Regions from separate parts of the Homo sapiens genome. Here regions 1, 2, 3, 5 and 6 are each linked to region 4. Evidence: promoter capture Hi-C in 16 types of primary human blood cells and fetal thymus (Javierre and others, 2016). All regions are on one chromosome and are shown on one strand. The core of a region is centred on a gene start or on the middle of the fragment in contact, and the rest is flanking DNA. Distances in the headings are between cores, read along the strand shown.

Evidence for each region. The method cuts DNA at HindIII sites, captures the fragments that hold promoters and counts their contacts. A CHiCAGO score of 5 or more calls a contact.
Region 1: the fragment with the promoter of TFAP4 here is called in contact with the fragment with the promoter of CREBBP in region 4 in 4 of 17 cell types (naive CD8 T cells, naive B cells, total B cells and 1 more); the score reaches 7.6 in naive CD8 T cells.
Region 2: a contact is called between a fragment that was not itself captured here and the fragment with the promoter of CREBBP in region 4, in 1 of 17 cell types (endothelial precursors). The highest score is 5.5, in endothelial precursors.
Region 3: a contact is called between the fragment with the promoter of GLIS2 here and the fragment with the promoter of CREBBP in region 4, in 5 of 17 cell types (M1 macrophages, monocytes, erythroblasts and 2 more). The highest score is 6.4, in M1 macrophages.
Region 5: a contact is called between the fragment with the promoter of SRL here and the fragment with the promoter of CREBBP in region 4, in 13 of 17 cell types (naive CD4 T cells, naive B cells, naive CD8 T cells and 10 more). The highest score is 8.1, in naive CD4 T cells.
Region 6: a fragment that was not itself captured here is called in contact with the fragment with the promoter of CREBBP in region 4 in 1 of 17 cell types (endothelial precursors); the score reaches 5.5 in endothelial precursors.

What each region holds. Positions count from the first base shown.
Region 1 is chr16:4,271,390-4,274,368 of GRCh38, reverse strand. It overlaps TFAP4 (transcription factor AP-4), which reads left to right and starts at 1,346. Exons shown (of 7, transcript NM_003223.3): 1 at 1,346-1,711. The coding sequence starts at 1,623. RefSeq lists silencers at 402-1,051, 1,772-1,821, 2,182-2,341 and enhancers at 200-1,175, 1,472-1,521, 2,422-2,611, 2,153-2,979. The HindIII fragment of the contact is 8,835 bases long and covers 1-2,760 here.
Region 2 is chr16:4,215,784-4,219,016 of GRCh38, reverse strand. The region is part of intron 1 of SRL (sarcalumenin); the gene reads left to right. Among named protein-coding and RNA genes, the nearest start is that of SRL, 25 kb to the left of the region's middle. The HindIII fragment of the contact is 3,324 bases long and covers 1-3,036 here.
Region 3 is chr16:4,314,661-4,317,853 of GRCh38, reverse strand. It overlaps GLIS2 (GLIS family zinc finger 2), which reads right to left and starts at 1,787. Exons shown (of 7, transcript NM_032575.3): 1 at 1,600-1,787. RefSeq lists enhancers at 1-525, 2,647-3,159, 3,160-3,193 and a silencer at 2,952-3,193. The HindIII fragment of the contact is 6,668 bases long and covers 1-3,193 here.
Region 4 is chr16:3,878,882-3,882,001 of GRCh38, reverse strand. It overlaps CREBBP (CREB binding lysine acetyltransferase), which reads left to right and starts at 1,289. Exons shown (of 31, transcript NM_004380.3): 1 at 1,289-2,170. The coding sequence starts at 2,086. RefSeq lists silencers at 814-1,363, 1,384-1,433, 1,771-2,080, 2,121-2,170, 2,251-2,300 and an enhancer at 1,034-1,610. The HindIII fragment of the contact is 11,013 bases long and covers 1-3,120 here.
Region 5 is chr16:4,240,662-4,243,569 of GRCh38, reverse strand. SRL (sarcalumenin) reads left to right here and starts at 1,490. Exons shown (of 6, transcript NM_001098814.2): 1 at 1,490-1,563. The coding sequence starts at 1,503. The HindIII fragment of the contact is 10,843 bases long and covers 1-2,908 here.
Region 6 is chr16:3,518,434-3,521,337 of GRCh38, reverse strand. It overlaps CLUAP1 (clusterin associated protein 1), which reads right to left. Exons shown (of 12, transcript NM_015041.3): 7 at 1,302-1,435. Among named protein-coding and RNA genes, the nearest start is that of CLUAP1, 19 kb to the right of the region's middle. The HindIII fragment of the contact is 1,209 bases long and covers 760-1,968 here.

The DNA.
Region 1 (2,979 bases), core at 97-2,596, 390 kb before region 4:
TTTTTGGTCAAGTGGTCTGGGATCTCTCCTTAGAGAAACTGCCTAACAGGTTGCTTCAAGGATTGGAGAGCGTGTAAGCAAAACTGCTCGGCATCCACCGGGTGCTGGCAACATCTAATAACAATATTTCCCAATAATAACAGTAACTATTGTTACTAGTAGGAATAAGTCAAATTAGGAGGCGCGATTTAGGCGGAACCTGGAAGGCGGTGGGCAGGATCCAGGACATTCCAAGGCAGGCGTGGGCTTCCTGAGCCAGGAGCCAACCCTCCAGGAGCCAGGGGAGGGCCTGGGGCCGGAAGGTGCGGCGTGCGAGCGGAGGACGGAAGCTCGCCGCCAGGGTCCCCGTCCCTGCCCCAAGTCGTCACCCCCTCTTGGGGAGCGCATCCTGGCGGAGGGGCAAGTCCCACACGGGCTTTGTTATGAATGGGAAGCTGCAGCCTTCAGCCCGCGGAGGGAACAGTGCGGGTCTGGGGGAATAGCAGGGGACCCGGCAGCAACCAGCAGACCTCCCCGCAGCGCTGGCAGCCTGCGCCCGGGGGCCGCTGCCGTTCAGGCCCGCCTCCACCCTCCCCTCCCTGCCGGGGCCCCCGGCTTCCTAGGGCGGCCCCAGCATCCGAGGCGCCCTTTGCCGTCCCGTCGCCGGGTCCAAGATTCCCAGGATCCGGAGTCCCGGCCGTGCGGCCAGCTAAGCAAGGCGGGAGGGAGGAAGCTGGCCGGCCTCCGAAGTCAGCCCCGAGTTACATGTGGGAAGCGGTGGCTGTGACGCAAGTTTCCAGGGGGCCCTGGGCTCGGCTCGAAGGGAGCACACCGGAGAGGCTCCGCTCCGTGCAGCTGCAATGGTGAAAAAGCAGAAGCCCCAAGCGCGAACCCCAGGCCGCCTTCCTTGCTGCCGCTGCACGCCCGACCCAGCCGCGCCCCCTCCTCCCTGCGGGCCGGCCGAGCGCGCGGACCCTGCTCTGGGCCAGTCGCTGCTGGACTCCGGGCTGCACGGGCTGGGCTCCCTGCGCGGTGGCTGGCCTTTTTTTTTTTTTTTTTGCAACGCTTGCCAACCTGTCAGCTGATGGACCTCATCACCCATAGTGGCGCATGTAGCTCGGCCGCAGCTCGCTCCATTCACGCCGCGCCCCGCAAGCCCGCCCGCGGCCCCCGGCCCCCTGCGCCCCGCGAGAGGCCTGCAGACCCCGGTTGCAGCCGGTCCCCGGGGGCCCGCGCCCCTCTCGCCCCGGCCTCGCGCCGCCCGGGGGGCGCTGCAAATAGTCCTTTGTTTACATGCAATTCCTTACTCCGCGGAAGGAGGCCGGGGGAGTGCTGAGTTTTCACCAGCTGTTTCCCGCCTTGAAACAGACATCTGATCAGCTGCAAACACACACACACACACACACACACACACACACACACACACACACACACATACACACGCCCGGGGAGGCAGGCCGGAGAGACCTCCCTCCCGCCCCTCCCGCCCGCCTCCCTCCCCTCGCCGCCGCCGCCGCCGCCAGCATCTGGGACCGGCCGATTCTGCACCTCCGTCCGGCGCTGCCCTTTGATTCGGATTTCCATCTTGCATTCTCCGGCTGATCGCGGGACCTGGCTCGTGCAGAGGAGGGGGGCCGATCGCTATGGAGTATTTCATGGTGCCCACTCAGAAGGTGCCCTCTTTGCAACATTTCAGGAAAACAGAGAAAGAAGTGATAGGAGGGCTCTGTAGGTGTGTACTCCTCCTCCCCCCACCCCCTTCCTACCACTGCAGCCCCCGGCCAGCCCGCCCGGGCGGGCGCGCGTGTGCGCACGCATGGCCCGCGCCGCCGACCCCGCTAGCCTTTCTTAGCTGCCGGGACGGCTGCAGCCCCACACGCCGGGTCCGCGCCGCCCCGGGACCCTCCTTCCTTGGAGCATGGGGGCCCCAAGCGGCCCCGGCCACTTTTGTCCGCTGCAGGCGGGCGAGTCGCGACGTTTGTAAATTGCAAACAGACCCACGTGGTTCTGCAGCAGTCCCGGCCATGCTTGGTGCTGGTGGCCTTCCCCCCCGCGCTTCCTCTTTCCCCCTCCTGCGGCGGCTTCCTTCCTCTCCTTCCTTCCTCGGGATCTGAGGTCGTCCCCATCCAAGGGGGTCTGGGGGCCCGGGGCGCGCGTGGGGGTGTAGCTAGGGCGGCTACAATGCAGCCATGCCGCGGCTCCCGGCGCGGGGTGGGGGCGGGGAGCCGGGCACTGTGCGTGTTTGCAGAGCGGGGCTGCAGCGGGGTCGGGGGCGTGCTCGCGTGTGGGTGTTGGGGGTGGGCGGACCCCGAGGGGCCCGCGCGGCCGGTAGGGGCGCCGCGGCCCGGGGCACGTTGGCTGCCGCTCGCTCGCCCGCCCGCGCCCGGGCGCTGTTTACTAGCGAGGCCTGGACGTGACTCTGCAGCCCTCTTGGAGTAGGCGGACCTCTGCGCGCGGCCTCGCGGGAGCTGTAGTTCTCCGTGTCCTGCTGGTGCAGCATTGTGGGATTTGTAGGCGCTCCTGGGCCACGCTTTCCCTGCACAAAGCTCGGCCCCCGCGGGCACGATGGGCAAGGCAGGCCAGGTGGGCAGGCCATTTGGGGAAGGGACACCTGAGGCCGCCCCTAGCCTCGCAGGGCAGCTTCCCGCCGCACGTGGGTTTCCTCTGCAAACTTTCCCATCCAACGCCCCTCCCCCCTGCCGTAAACCGAAAGCGTCGGGTCCCCCAGCCGGGTGGGTGGCCCGAGGTCCGCAGGCCTCCCCAGAAGCCACTTTGCAAGCTTTGGTCCTAGGTTGCTCTAAACCCAAAGGGTGATGGACTCAAGGACCACACACAGCCAAACCACCCCGCACACTTCTTAAAATGCACATGCCTGGAACTCTGATCGCTGGGGCCCGGACATCTGCATTTTGAACGACCCCCTGGGCGTGGTGTGGGGGAGGTGGGCGTTCTACGGCGTGCGCAAGTTTGGGACCTGTGGCCCCTTTCCTGCCGCGCTGC
Region 2 (3,233 bases), core at 125-2,624, 340 kb before region 4:
CCAGGACCTGGCGGTGGGGCCCATCTGTCATGGATTCGGTGACACCCTCTGGGAAAGAAGGTTGAAAAATCTGGCCTTTTGGTGTCTAGGCAGAAGTTTTTCCAGAGAGGTCTATGAGCTGGGGCACATGGGCAGGACATTTGTGTATTCTTGCTGCCCTAGCTCTGCCAGAGGCCTGGCCTTCCTCCTTAACTAACTCTGCGTAGACTTGGGAACCGCCGGCTTCTGTGGTCTTCCTGGCAGTTGTAGGAGAGATGGCTGAGGACACCTCCCCGGCTGAGCAGGTTGGGGGCTGTGCGCCCTGTTGTCTGGCACTCTGGGTGTGGCATTTCCTCTCACCTGCTCTGCTAATGGGGACAGAGCTGCTGGTGATGGAGGAGCAGGGCCCACGTGGTCCAGCGGGCCTGTGTGTGAGGCTCTTCAAAGCCATGGAGACATCAGCTGTGATTTCACTTGTGCGAGAGGAGCAAAGCGCCGCTGTATATTGGAGGCCAGAACTGCTCCTGCCCCATCTCTGTGGCTCAGCCCTGGCTGCGTTCTCCAGGCCCGAGTGGTTTCTGAAGGGCTGATTGTCTTACTCCCAGTGCTCACTTACCATGAGGATGAGGAAGCCACACAGCACTGCTAATGACCTCCCTCCGACCGTGTTGCTGTTTCAGAGAGCTTTGAAGGGCCCTTACCGGTCCTCTGCCTTCGGAAAGGGCTTCCCTCCCATTCTCAGAAAGACGTGGCCCTTAGAATGGGTCTGTTTAAACTTCCTGAGTGCGCGTTTGCGTTGGGGTGAAGTGCGGGGTCACCTCACTTCAGTGACTGGACAGAAGGGATGGGACGTGGTGGGGAAAGGGGAGGCCACATGTGGCCTCAGATGTTGCTGGTGAATCAGGGCTGACTGAGGCTGGAGTCAGGGACTGCAGGGGTTAACTTTGGGATCAGCAGAACGAGCTCCTGGCCCCTGGGAGTGTTGACAGCTCAGCCTGCTCCGTTCCCAGACCAGCCAGAACTTCACCAAGAGCGCAGGGCTCACCCCCAGGCACCCTGCAGCTCCTCGCCTGAGCTGCCTCTGGCTGGCAGCCAGGGAGGAGGAGTCCCTGGCAGAAGGATGGATGGCTCCGGGCCCCCTGACTGAGCCCCCAGACCCGGAGGGCTAAAGGAACAGCGTGAAGGGCCAGCTGGCTCGGCTCCTGTCCGAAGCTGGCTCTGCTGTGGCCCACTCAGCAAATTTGGGATTTGGCCTGGTGTCTTTGCTCTTCTAGGAAAGAATGATGCTCATAGCTGACATTTATTGAAATGCTTCTGAGCACCACCTGATGTTTAAAACGCTCTGATGGGGCTGGCAAAGCAGGTATTGTTATCTACATTTTATGGGCGAATAAAGTTGTGTGCAGAGGGAGTAAGGAGCAACCCAAGGTTACTTCGCTGGGTAGTAAGACAGCGGGGGGTGGGGGCGCCAGTGGTAAGACAGCAGGGGAGGGGCCAGTGGCTCACGCCTGTAATCCCAGCACTTTGAGACGCTAAGGCTGGAGGATCGCTTGAGCCCAGAAGTTTGAGACCAGCCTGGGCAACATAGTGAGACCCTGTCTTTACAAAAAATAAAACAATTAGCCAGGCATGGTGGCGCGTGCCTGTAGTCCCAGCTACTCTGGAGGCTGAAGTGTGACAAGTAGGAAGGCTGCAGTGAGCTTTCGTCACACTGCTGCACTCCAGTCCAGGTGACAGAGCAAGACCCTGTCTCTAAGGGACAGGGTCTGTAAAAAAAGAAAAAGAGTAAGGGGCAGAACCCAGCTTTCCTGACTTCCAGGTGCATTCAGAGAGACCAGCCACTATCTAGGAGGCTGGAGCCTCAGCCCCAGGAAGAAAGAAAAGGCATAGCCGTGGGCCTGGCTCAGGCTAGGGAAGGTGTCACACCCATTTCCCAAGCTCCCACGTTTCTCAAGAAGATTCCCTCCAGCTTCCCTGGATTGGGGATGGGGTGGGCCCAGATTCCTTGACCCCTTCACCTGCCAAGCTGGAGATGGCTCTGACTTTAACCCAGGATAGCTGTTAGACTGAGACCTGCGGGAGCCACGCTCCCTTGGCTTCCAGTAAGTCTTTTCCTGTCTGGGGCCCAAAAGTTAGACCAGCACCTCATCCCCACAGATCCCAGGGAGATTGGATTTCTTCGGACTGGGATGTGGGGGGAAGCCAGCCACCTGCCTTGGTCTGTCTCAGAACCCAGCCTGCATCCCTTTCCCCTTCCTTTCCCTTTCCTCCCCAGCTCGGCCCCTCTGAAGGGAGGCAGCAGGCCCAAGGCCTTCTGCAAGGATTTCTGTTCACTGCAGGCACGGCTGATCTCTGGAAAAACTGAGTGCTCTATAGAGTATCCCTGCTAGTGATTGACTCATACTGAGGGGTTAGGATATAATGTTTTGCTCTTTCTGAGGTATTTGTCTTTTTAAAGTGAATAGTGGCTGGGCATCGTGGCTCATGCCTATAATCCCAGCACTTTGGGAACTTGAGGCGGGTGGATCACTTGAGGTCCAGAGTTTGAGACCAGCCTGGCAAACGTGGTGAAACCCCATCTCTACAAAAAATACAAAAATTAGCCGAGTGTGGTTGCGTGCACTTGTGGTCCCGGCTACTCAGGAGGCTGAGGCAGGAGAATCGCTTGAATCTAGGAGGCAGAGGTTGCAGTGAGCTGAGATTGTACCACTGTACTCCAGCCTGAGTGACAGAGATGCTGTCTCAAAAAATAAATAAATACATAAAATAAAAATAAAATAAAATAAAAGTGAATAGTCATTTATACTGATGACTCCTCCAGGCATCAGTGACAAGCATGTATATATATGATGGTTGTGGGATTTCTGGTAATTTCTTTCTACCTCCCAAACCAAGAATTCCCAGGAATTGGAGGTGGGGTGAGGAGTGAAGTTATTCTGTCAATTCTCAGGACTCTATGGGTTAAAAACAATTGTGCTGAAGTCTTAATCCTTTTTTTTTTTGAGACAGGGTCTCCCTCTGTTGCCTAGGCTGGAGTATAGTGGTGTTATCAAAGCTTATTGCAACTTCAAACTCCTAGGCTCAAGAGGTCCGTCAACCACAGCCTCCCCAGTAGCTGGGACCACAGGCGCACGCTACCATGCCAAGCTAATTTTAAAATTTTTTGGAAAGATGGGCCAGTAGTAAGACAAAGCAAGTAGTAAGCAAGACAGAGGTCTTGCTTTGTTACCCAGGCTGGTTTCAAACTCCTGGGC
Region 3 (3,193 bases), core at 538-3,037, 440 kb before region 4:
CTAAGAAAAACAGGGTTGCTTCCAAGGGGTCCGCACACCCCCCAAAACACCATCCCAAGTCCCTGGCACTGTCTCCTGCTTGGCTGGCTGCAGACAGGGCCAAGTTGAGCTGGAGGTGGGCAGTGAAATGGGCCAGGCTGGAGCTTGGCAAAGGGTGTCCTGGGAGGGGCCTCCCAGGTGCAGCCCCTCCCCCTGTGCAGGCCAGGCCAGCTAGGAGGCCCAGCCTGGGCTCTGGGGAGAAGGAGAAGCAGAGGGGGAGGTCCGAGGTCACCCGGGATGGGTGTGTGGGCTGGGCCTGGACAGCTGTGGCACTGTGGCACCAGAATGGGGCTTGGGGAGGGGTGACCCAAGGGGCCAGTTTCCCCTCCCCTGAGCCCGGGGGCTGGAAGGCCCTCCGAAGCGCAGTGTCTCTGGGCTTCCTCCCCAGCCGCAGGCTGGCCCCACCTTCCCTCCAGGATGCCAGGACACGCAGGATGGCGGCCTACTACCCAGGGTGCCAGCCTCCAAGAACCATGGCCCAGGCCCTTTCCATGGCCCAGACCAAGCCCAGGCCTTGGCCAGGTCCCCAGCCGGCCTGGCTGCCCCCTCAGTGTCAAGCGTTCCCTCCAGAGCCAAGATCCTGGGCTGTGATGGCTGGGGGCCCAGGGCCCCTCCCAGCATCCCTTCCAGCTTCCCAGGCCCCAGGGCAGGGCTGGGCAACTCCTTGAAACCATTGCTTCCCGGCCACCCTCTGGCCAGGCTGGGCGGGCCCTCCTGGACAGGCAGACAGGCTGCACGCTGCCCTGCTGTGGCCCGAGTACCCTGCTGGGCAGGGCAGCATGCCAAGGCCTCCAGGTGCCAGCCTGGATTCCAGCCCCATCCCAGGGGGCCAGCGGGGAAGCTGTGCGTGCTTCTCCTCCCTCGGGATGCACCTGCCTCGCCCCCTCCTCCACCCGCTCCAGACCCGCCCTCCGGCGAGTATGGACCCCTTGCCATCTCCTCCCTGCCAGGCCGGTCGCCTGCGTCCACCCGGACCGCAGGGGAGTAACAAGTGCCTGACTTGTCCCAAACTCCCAGTCCTGACCCCCCAGGGACGCCCCTTCCCGAGGTCCAAGGAAGGACCCGGGCTTGCGAGGGGCAGCAGGAGGGAGACTCTCCCGGCCAAGGGAGGAGGCACCTTCCAAAGCCCTTCCTAGCAGCAGCCCCGGCGCGGCCGAGAGGAGGGGCGGCTGCCCCGGACAACTTCATGCCCAGGCTCCGGGTACCCCCCTCTCACCTCGCCGCACGCCCCCCACCGCGGCCGCCCAACTTCCCAGCTGAAGTTTGCGCCCGCCCCGGGCCCGGGCGCTGCTCGGCCCGGCCTCCAGACGGAGGGAAGGAAGGAGGGAGAAGAAAGACCGAGAGCTCGAGGGACCCGGCCGGGGAGCCGGCGAGGGAGGGAGCGCGCGAGCCAGCGAGCGAGCGAACGCGGGGGCCTCGGCGAGGGCTCACAATGGCCCGGGGCGCGGACGCGAGCGGGGGAGGAGACCCTCGGGCCCCGCAGCCCCGGCGCGACAGGCGGGCCCCCCCCCCCCCGCCCCGGCCCGGTCCCCACGGCGCGACGCCCGGGGGGCTTCCTACCTCAGCGGCGGGGGCGGTCGGGATCCGGGCTGCGGGCTCCGGCGGTCGGGGGGCGCGGGGAGCCGAGCGGGGGAGGGGCCGGGACGGGCGGGGGCCGGGGCGCGAGGCCTCACGGGGCGCGGGCTCCCCTGGCACGGCCGCCCGGCGCCCGGCCGCTCCGCCACATCTGCAGCTCGGGCAGGGAAGGTGGCCGCGGCGGCCGGGCCGTGCGGGGATGTCTTAGAGGGAGGGCGGGCGGGCGGGAGGAGGGAGGAGGGAGGCGGCGGGAGGAGGGCCCGCCGGCCGCGGAGGAGGGCGAGGAGGAGGGGCGCGGGGGGCGGCCTCCACCCCTCCCCTCGCTCGCTCGCTCCCTCCCTCCCAGCAAAACCCCTCTCACCGCTGCGGCCCCAGGCCCGGGGCGCCAGCTGCCAGGCGGGGCGTGCGCGTCGGGGGAGGGGGCGGCGGGAGCCGGCGCTGGGCCGAGGGAGGGGGAAGGGAGGGCGGCGCGGCCGCGGGGAGCGGGCACCGGGAGGGAGGGGTGAGGGAGGGAAGTGGGGCGCCGAGCCGCGCGCGTCCTCCTCGGCCCCATCCTCACGCCACCCCCCCCCCGCGGCCCCGCCCCCGGCCCGAGGGCAGCGCTAGGACACGGCCGGGAGGTGGCCTGGGGGGGCGGGGGAGCCCGAGACGTCCCGCCCTCGGGGAAGCCCGAGGAGGGGGCCGGGCGCGCGGGCCCAGAGGAAAAGCCCCGCAGACCGGGAAGATGGAGGAGGTCGCGGCGGCGGAGCGGGCGGGGACCCCTCGCCTCCTCCCGCGGGGTCACCTTGGCCAGGCCCCCCTGCGGCCCCGGGCGGCGGGGAAGGCGGCAGGAATGCCTCTCTGCGGGCCCTGATTTCTCCGCCCAGCCCAGTTCCAGGAACGCGCAGGCAGCGCCCGGCGGGCAGAGGTCCCGGATCCCGATGCCGGGCGGCGCAAACCAGTTTTCGGGGCCCGGCGCAACCCCTCACGCTGGTGAGACGGCGGGCGACTCCCTGCCGTGCCCTCGGTCTCAGTTTCCCTCACGGTAGAATAACGACGAGGCCCGATGCCGAGCAATCCGAGCTTCCGCTTGGTTCCTAGCTTGGTCCCAGCATTTGGGACCACCTGCGTCCACTAGCCCGAGCGCCGCGGGAGGTCTAGATCCCTCCTGGACATCAGCACCCTGCGCGGCGCCCGCGGCCAGGGCAGCGAGTGCAGTGAGCGGATACACGCGAGGGAGAAGCCCCGCACCCGGCCCAGCTGTTTTCTGCCTCGTGTTGAACCACAGACTCGCGTTCTTGAGTGTGTTTTGTTTGGGCTAATCCCGTGCCCCCCGCCCTGTTATCTTCTTGCTGCTCTGCTGTATGCTGGCAAATTGTAGTTCAAAAAAACAGCCCTCCTGCTGTTGGACACCCCCTCTTCCCAGCGCAGTTGGCCTTGAGGAGCCTAGGAGACGAAAAAGGCATCCCAGAATCAGCATCCCCTAGAGGTGAGGCATCTGACGCTGGTTTTAAGTCCGTCTTCATTCGTGCATTTGATGCTGCGGTCCCCGCCAGAGCCCGAAGCACGTGGCTCTTGATCACAAGGCATCCATGGCAGG
Region 4 (3,120 bases), core at 40-2,539:
GGTCTTGAACTCCTGACCTCAGGTGATCTGCCACCGCGCCTGGCCAGGGAGTTGTTTTAAACAGATTTTCTCCCTCTCTTTTCGGGATGTTAACTCTGGTGCTGCGTGGGGAGCAACGTGGAGAGCAAAGAACACTTAAGTGAGTAGCTGCCACCATAGCCACCGGGACAGTGCGGGAGGAGCAGTCTCCCAGGTAAAGACCGTGGGTAGAGGGGCGCGTGGCGGGTGAGAGGGAGGAGTCCGCGCTGACTCACGGGTTTCTGGCTTAGGAAACAGTGGAGCTGCTGATACCTTTATGAGGAAGCCGGGCAAGTTTGGAGGGGCAGATAACTAACTGGGATGGGAACACCTCGGGTATTCGTAGAAGTGTCCCGCGGGCTGTGGTCTCGCGTGGGGGACTCCCCAGGCCCGCACCCCTGTCTGGGGCACCTGCGAGGCGCCAGGCAAGTTGCCTGGGGCGGGGAGTGCGGCCTGAGCGTCCAGGCTTAAGCCCCGATGCGCGGGCCCTTCTCCGCCCAGGCCGGCCCTCGCCACCCCGCTCTCACAGGTGAGGGTGTCTGCCCTGCCGCCTTGGGATGCGAACAGGCGTGAGGCCCCCTCACTCCCTAGTGTCACGAGGTAGGGCGGGACCCGAATCCCGGCCCTGCCACTTCCTGCCTCGACCACTTTGGAGCAGTTGCTCGCCCCCCGCCTCAGTTTCCCCATCCGCCCACCTCGTCGGCAGGACCCAAGGGCGGTCTGTAACCTGCAGAGGCCATTCCACTTCCCTGGCCGGCGGCGAAGGCTAGTGGCGCGGCCTGGGCTGGGGTCGCCCCGACCGTTCCCGACCGACGCCACCTAGGAGGGTCTGGGGAAGGGGACGCGAGGAGCTGGGAACACGCAGCGCCGCCCCAGCGGGACGGGCGGGCCCGGGCTGGCGTCGAATCCGCGCCCGAGAGCCCAGCCCGCGGCCAGGCCGCCGCTCCCGGAGCCCGCTGGGGCCCGGAGCCCCGGCCCTCTACGCCTGGTCGCCATCAGAACAAAAGCTGTGGCTCAGCCCGGAGCCCAGGCGCCCCGCAGGCCTGGCCCGCGCCGGGCCGCCAGCTTCCCTACGCTTGGCGGCCGCGCCTTCAGCCCTTCGGCCCGAGCACGCTCGGCTCTTTCCGCCACGGCCGGCGCAGGTGGAGGGGGCGGGGCGGGGGCCGTGCGTGGTGACGCCGCGGGGGGGTGACGCACCGGCGTGCCCCGCCCCCACCCCCTCCCCGTTCAGGCTCTGGAAAGAGAAGAAAAAAAACTTTCTTTTTTTTTTAATTGAGGAATCAACAGCCGCCATCTTGTCGCGGACCCGACCGGGGCTTCGAGCGCGATCTACTCGGCCCCGCCGGTCCCGGGCCCCACAACCGCCCGCGCACCCCGCTCCGCCCGGCCGGCCCGCTCCGCCCGGCCCTCGGCGCCCGCCCCGGCGGCCCCGCTCGCCTCTCGGCTCGGCCTCCCGGAGCCCGGCGGCGGCGGCGGCGGCAGCGGCGGCGGCGGCGGCGGAACGGGGGGTGGGGGGGCCGCGGCGGCGGCGGCGACCCCGCTCGGCGCATTGTTTTTCCTCACGGCGGCGGCGGCGGCGGGCCGCGGGCCGGGAGCGGAGCCCGGAGCCCCCTCGTCGTCGGGCCGCGAGCGAATTCATTAAGTGGGGCGCGGGGGGGGAGCGAGGCGGCGGCGGCGGCGGCACCATGTTCTCGGGGACTGCCTGAGCCGCCCGGCCGGGCGCCGTCGCTGCCAGCCGGGCCCGGGGGGGCGGCCGGGCCGCCGGGGCGCCCCCACCGCGGAGTGTCGCGCTCGGGAGGCGGGCAGGGGATGAGGGGGCCGCGGCCGGCGGCGGCGGCGGCGGCCGGGGGCGGGCGGTGAGCGCTGCGGGGCGCTGTTGCTGTGGCTGAGATTTGGCCGCCGCCTCCCCCACCCGGCCTGCGCCCTCCCTCTCCCTCGGCGCCCGCCCGCCCGCTCGCGGCCCGCGCTCGCTCCTCTCCCTCGCAGCCGGCAGGGCCCCCGACCCCCGTCCGGGCCCTCGCCGGCCCGGCCGCCCGTGCCCGGGGCTGTTTTCGCGAGCAGGTGAAAATGGCTGAGAACTTGCTGGACGGACCGCCCAACCCCAAAAGAGCCAAACTCAGCTCGCCCGGTTTCTCGGCGAATGACAGCACAGGTGAGGAGGGGGTCCGGGGCGGCGGGGGCCCGGGGCGCGCTGTCACCCCCACCTGAAAGAGAGCGTCCGGGGGTCGTGGTCGCGGATACCGATCGAGCCGGGAGCTCGGAGCAGGCCCCGCAGCCCGTTCCCCTCGCCCCGCGCGGGAGGGTGGAAGTTCGTCGCAGGACTGTCACTGGGCCCGAGTTGGTCAGCACACGCCCGGTGCACTCGGCCTCCCCGCACCCGATCAGCCCTCCTCGCGGGGACCCTAGTGGCACTCCAGGAGGGAAGAAGTAAAGTGCAGCGTGTGGGTTTGTTTGGTAATGTCCTACGCATCCATCCGCGGCCGTGTCCACACGCGTGGCCGTCCAGAGGAATGACAGCGGAGGGTACCTTTGATGCTTAGAGAAAGCAAGATCGCGGCCAAAGGTAGGGCAGTGTGTTTTCTGGATTGGCGACACATTGACCAGGCTGCATTCAGAGGACACTCACAGCAGCCGCCAGCTTGCGAGTTAGAACCGAAGTTTCTTGGAATGAGTGAGTTCCTTGGAAAGATGCTTAGTGCTTATTTTCAAAACTCCTTGTTTTGTGTGTGTGTGTGTGTGTGTGTGTGTGCGCGCGTGTGTGTTTTTAGTCAACTAGTCATTCCATTTTTCAAAACCCAAACTTCGTTAGCAAGATGTCATGAAAGTTGCTGTGGTGTGTTTCATTTCCATGTATAACTTCAAAAGAAAGTTAAACAGCAGGTTTAAGTTCATTTGGGCTGCAATCTCCATTTGAGTTTGTGTTGCTTTCACAGTGTAGATGTACAAAGAATTAAGGAATGTAGGAATTCCAATTTTTCAAAAAAATGGAGCAGGATACTGAATAAATCATCTTTTTGTTTGTTTCCTTTCATTAAACGGCTTCCCTGGAAACTTTCTTAAGTTATCATAGCTGCTTAAGAGAAGTATTTAGTTTTCTATTAA
Region 5 (2,908 bases), core at 241-2,740, 360 kb before region 4:
AAAAAAATTAGCCAGATGTGGTGCACACCTGTATTCCCAGCCCCTCGGAGGTTGAGGTGAGAGGGTGGCTTGAGCCCAGGAGTTCAAGGCTGCAGTGAGCTATGATCGTGTCACTACTCCAGCCAGGGTGACAGAGACCCTGTCTCTTAAAAAAGATTAAAAAAAAAAAAAAAGTCAAGTGCCTACCAGATGCCTAATTCTTTTTTTTTTTTTTTTTTTTTTTGAGACAGAGTCTCGCTCTGTTGCCCAGGCTAGAGTCAGTGGTGCAATCTTGGCTCATGGCAACCTTCGCCTCCTGGGATCAAGTGATTCTCCTGCCTCAGCCTCCTGAGGAGCTGGGATTATAGGCACCCGCCACCACACCCAGTAATTTTTGTATTTTTAGTGGAGATGGGGTTTCACCATGTTGGCCAGGCTGGTCTCAATCTCCTGACCTCAGGTGATCCACCCGCCTCGGCCTCCCAAAGTGCTGGGATTACAGGTGTGAGCCACTGTGCCTGGCCCTGATTTAGTTCCTTTCCTCCAAGGCTGGCTTCTACCTCTTCCCCACACAGTGACACTGTACCCCGACCAGACAAGCAAGTGTCTGCTTTCCCTTGGCTTCTTACAACTGGCTCTCTGGGCCATCTACAAAAAATTTTAAAAAATTAGTACAGCATGGTGGCACTACTGTCCTAGCTACTTGGGAGGCTGAGTTGGGAGGATTGATTGAGCCTGGGAGGTCGAGTGCAGTGAGTGATGATTGTGCCACTGCAGTCCAGCCTGGGTGACAGAGCGAGATCCTCTATCAAAAACAAATAAACAAAAAAGCACTTTGCAGAGGTGACTGAATGTTCTGGAACCCCTGGGCCATTGGAAATGGATATCTGTTGCTCCATCCTCCAGTTTACACCGTAGCCTCAGCTTGTGTCTCAGTGTGCCCCTCTCCCTCTGGTCTGTGCTCTCTCTCTTCCAGAGGCTGGGAAGGTTGTTCCAGGGCTGCAGCCTTGGACCTCAGAGGTCACATGTTGCGGGTTTGCCGTAGCTGACCACTCTCTAGCATGTGGATCAGTGGCTGTTAAATAGGATTTCTTTTGCGTGGCCTTACAACTTCCTCCTTCCAGTGCAGGCGTGTCAAGGTCCTTAACCTGCCGAGACTTCAGGTCAAGTTATTGCAAGTTCTGGGAAGACTCAGCTTCCCAGCTCCACCGCCTGAGCCCAAGGGATGCTCCATTTTATGCCTGTCACCCACGCCCTGTGACCCATGTCATGTGATCCCAGGGCTGCAGGGGTTCGGGGGAAGAGAATCCAGCCACGGCCCTGCCTTCTGGGGCCTGGCAGCTGGGACAGCAGTGGCGCAGCCTGAGCCTCTGCACAGCCTTCTGGGGTCCGGGCTTCTTCCCCATCACACCCTCCTAGTTGCCCTGGTGACTGTGTGACCCCTCTCCCCCCTCCACCGCCTGCTGCCACGGCCGGCCGTATAAATAGAGGCGAGGAGCAGCTGGGCTCTCTTGGCAGTCACCATGAGGGCGCTGGTCCTGCTCGGCTGCCTCCTGGCCTCGCTCCTGTTCTCAGGACAAGCAGGTAGGGCCCCTCCCAGCATGACCCAGCCCAGACTGGTCCCCCACGCTTCCTCCAAGGTTTTCTGTCTACCATGGGTTGGGTAGGGGGTCGGGGCTGATGGCAAACCCTGGCTCTTGGCTGGTGTCTTCTTACCCTTCTCTTTTCCCCGGGCCTGGGGCCTCAGAGAAAGAGCTGGGTGCTGGAGAATAGCAGCACAGTTGCGGGGCCCTCAGGAAGGCCAGAGGAAGTGGGAACGGCAAACAGAGCTGAGCTGTGAGCCAGGGTCAGAGAGGAGTCTGGCCAGTAGATGTGGGAAAGAGGGCCCTCAAAGTCGAGACGGGGGAGCCTCTGAGACGGACAAAATAGCACAGTCTGGGAGCTGGAGGTCGTTGAGGTGACCCTCCCACCTGGTGGGATATAAGGCGGAGGCCCCACTCGGGTAAGAGAACTGGGTTTGCGTGGACAGAAGGGGATACAGTGGGCAAAGGTGGGGACCGTTTTGGGAGCAGTGAGATAGAATTGGAATTGGTTTGGGATAAGATCGGAAATAGAGTTGGCGGTTGGGCTGGAAACAGCATTGGATGCAATTCAGAAGAGGAACGGGGCCCGTTCTGGAGTAGAGCCTCTGCTCGGGGTGGGGGCTTCCATCAGAAAAGGGGCTTGGCTCTGTGTGCTGAGGCTTCCCTTTGACATCTCAGCACTTTGGGTAGCAGAGGTGGTGGCTTGGGTTGCAGCATGGGGGTTATCTATAGGCTATGGAGGAGATGCCAGATTGTTTTGCCACCTCTCTTGTTCCTAAGGTTCCTGAGGCCAGGTTCCCCGAGGGAATGCTTTTAGGGAGGTGCTCCGGGGATCCCCCTAGGATCCGGACTGCCCACCGAGTCTTTTCATGACTCGGCAGTCTTCCCCCAAGCTGGGCTCTGAGCCTAGGTCCGTACCTGGGACTGGAGAGGCCCAGAGTCCAGCCTCTCAGGTCTTTGAGGTTGAATAGGGGGTTGCAGGGGCACAGTCCCTGCAGGGAGAGCAGGCAGTGGGTGGGAACAAAAGCTATTTCTCGGGGACTCAAGATGTAAGGTGGGGGGCTCCAGCCACTGCATGTGCTGCTGGGCCCTGCCCTTGTCTGTCCTTGAGTTAATTTGGGCTCTGCAGGGCTGCAGCGGCTTGAGTGCTGAGTATTCCAGGCGGCTGTCAGGCGGCTAAGTATGGAAACAGCCGCGTAATTGGATCCGGAGCCCCAAGCCGCTGCCACCCTCTCCCTTCGTGGCCGCTCCTGTGCTGCCCCCCAGCCCCAGCTGCTGGGCTGCTACACACTGGGCCCCAGGAATTTTTGGCCTTTTAGGGACATCCTTTATCTTTCCTCCCACCG
Region 6 (2,904 bases), core at 115-2,614, 360 kb after region 4:
AGCAGATAAACTCAGAAATAATTATAATCTTTTGAACTAGAGCAAAACAAAGAGACTTTTCTGTTAAAATGATTTGGAGCTTAACAAAAATGAATTGATGCTTTAAAAGTGGAATGTGTCAAGGAGATCAATCTATATGGCGGCAATGACTTCTGTTTTTTTTTTTTTCCCTCTCTGAGGCTCCAGAGGTAAAGAGCCAGTTTCAGGAGGGGAAGGGCCTTGGCCTTGCGCTGGGCAGGGAGGAGCCAGGGCGCTCCCTGTGGTTGCTGTCGCTGCCTCCAGGTGCTGCCTCCCCACAGACCTCGGGACAGTGGGCAGGGTGTAGCCAGCCACCAACATCCAAAAAGGCAAAACATCCGAGCAGAGTAGGCAGCTGGGAAGAGGAGGGAGCCAAGAAGAAAGAAAAATAAAGGGTGAATGAAAAGGGAGAAAGAGCAGAAGCATGGGGGAGGGAAAGAGGCACAGAACGAGGAAGAGAAGAGAGAGAGAGCCGGCACCACTATTCTCCATCGGTATTCCTGGGAAATATATTTCCAATGAGGTAACGTAGGAAGAAAGATGAATTACTGACTGGTGAGGAATGATCAAGGTTTAAATAAAGTCTAAAATCTATGCCAACAAACAGGCAGGAGTATGTTTCTGTTTCTACCTAATTTATGGCAAGATCTTAGGAGACCACGTCTGGATTTCCCCGTCTGGATTCACTTACTCTGCCTTGAGTTCCAAGAAGCTATAAAAGCTTAAAGGGCAGTTCAAGCTTTAAGCAGTTTTCCAGACATACCGCAAGCAGTAAAGAGAATGAGTTTAGCCATCTGCTTGTTATGACAGGCAACACATGTACATTTGAGGTGAAGATACCCTTATGTAAGGCTTTTTTTCATTGCTTGAGAAGAGTTAAGATCACATTCTATTCTCTTAAGTCTTTGTTCTAACTTTTTTTTTCTTTTAGAGTCAGGGCCTTGTTCTGTTACTCGGCCTTGTTCTGTGGCTCAGGCTGGAGTGCAGTGATGCAACCATAGCTCACTGCAGCCTCAACCTCCTGGGCTCAAGCAATCCTCCCGCCTCAGCCTCCCAAGTAGCTGGGACTACAGGTGTGTATCACCATACTGAGGTAATTTTTAAAAATTTTTAGAGATGGGGTTTCATTATGCTGCCCAGGCTGGTCTCAAACTCCTGGGCTCAAGAGAACCCCCCGCCCCAGCTTCATGAGTAGCTGAGATTTCAGACATGAGCCACCACGCCCAGTTTGTTTGAACTTTCCAGGACATCTTTCTACTCATTCTCCAAGTGTTCATATCTACCTGACACTCTGCAGAGTCTCTAGTCGCTTCCGATTTCTTTCCAGTTCTAATTTTCTCTTTTCGATTTTGGCTTCTAAATTAGCTTCATCAGAGGCCACATTATTGAGCAGGTCTTTAGTCTTCTGAACCTGTGTCTATATTTAATGGGAAATAATGAGACAAGGTGGCAATAAAAACAGCCATCCTAATTCTTAGAAGAATTTTGCAACTCTTCAGGCATAGCAACATTATGCTCAACAAACACAAAAGCAAACAAATAGACACTTCCCCAAGCAATGACTCACTTAACCCACTAGTTCCAGGGAGAATGTCACACAGGTCCAGAAAAAGGTATCTCTTTTTTTTTCCCCATGAAAAGCAGGCATTTCTACCCAGGGAAAGAAGTGAAGATGCAAAGAAGAGTGTCCTGGTCAAGGTGGAGAGGCCTGCAGTCTTTTCTCTGGCTCACTCGGTTAGAACAAGGTGCACATCACTCTGGACGGTCAGTCTGCCTTTTTATCATTCGGGCCATGCCCCTAGTTACAAACACCCGACTTACAGAATACCCACACACACCAAGTACTGCTCTACTAGGAGGGGAGAGAAAGAAACAGCTGGTCCCAGCCCTAACCCACTGCCTGCTGGGATTGAGAGAAGGTCCTCTTCCCTCTCCCTGGCAACAGAAGCTTGACTACAGACTAAAAACGAGGAGAAACCACTCTGAAGACAGTACGAAAGCAGTTCCCACAGTGGCAATGGCCACACTGGTGTGCACCAGCTCTGGAAGGGGTCCAGGGCAACAGTTGGACAGAGGCCCTTGGGCAACAGAGGCTGAGTAAAGAAGGGAAGGGGGACACGGGCCCACTGACGGTGACACAAGTCTCCCTATCCTAAGAGAAGGTTCATTTGAAGCAGGTAGAGTCACTGGTAGTGCGCCGTCTTCACATGCGTCTTGTCCGGTGGCTGGCTGGATCACATGCCTGGGGTTCAGGCTCCAATCTCTTTATGAGGAATCTGGACTGCCACCCAGCTGAGCGTGGAACTGCCCCCCAGGGTTCTGGCTTTCCAGCCCTGCATTAAGTTCCTGGTGGCCAAGGTGGGGCTTCCCCTCCAGCTCTTTGCCTATGTGTAGCATCCCACGAAGGGGTTACTCTGTTTTCCTGCAAGTCTCTGAAAAGCTATGGGCTCCACAGAGAAATGGCCTACGAAGCCCAGACACTCTCCACAACTCTCAGGCATGGTGTGTTTTGGAACCAGCCACTGTTACTGACAATGCGTTTATGGTCTAATTTTTTTGGTCTAAGTACACTAGCCACTTCTAAGATACTTTCATGAAAATAATCAGACCCTTATCATCGATTTGCTGCAAGTGCCTTAGAGCCCCCAGGAGAAATGCGAGTTCACCCTCACAGGAAGAAAGGTGGGTCTCCTTTCTAAACAACTTCAGTTAATGGCAACTGTTTCCTCGAACCAAAGTCAGATTAAAACCTAGTAAATTTATCCCACCTTAAACATATCTGTTCCTCAAACAAGAAAGATCCACAATGCAAAACAGCTGTGTAAACACAAGCAATTTTCCCTGGTTTCTGAAATAAATGGCCTGTACTCCCCAAACCCTTTTAAG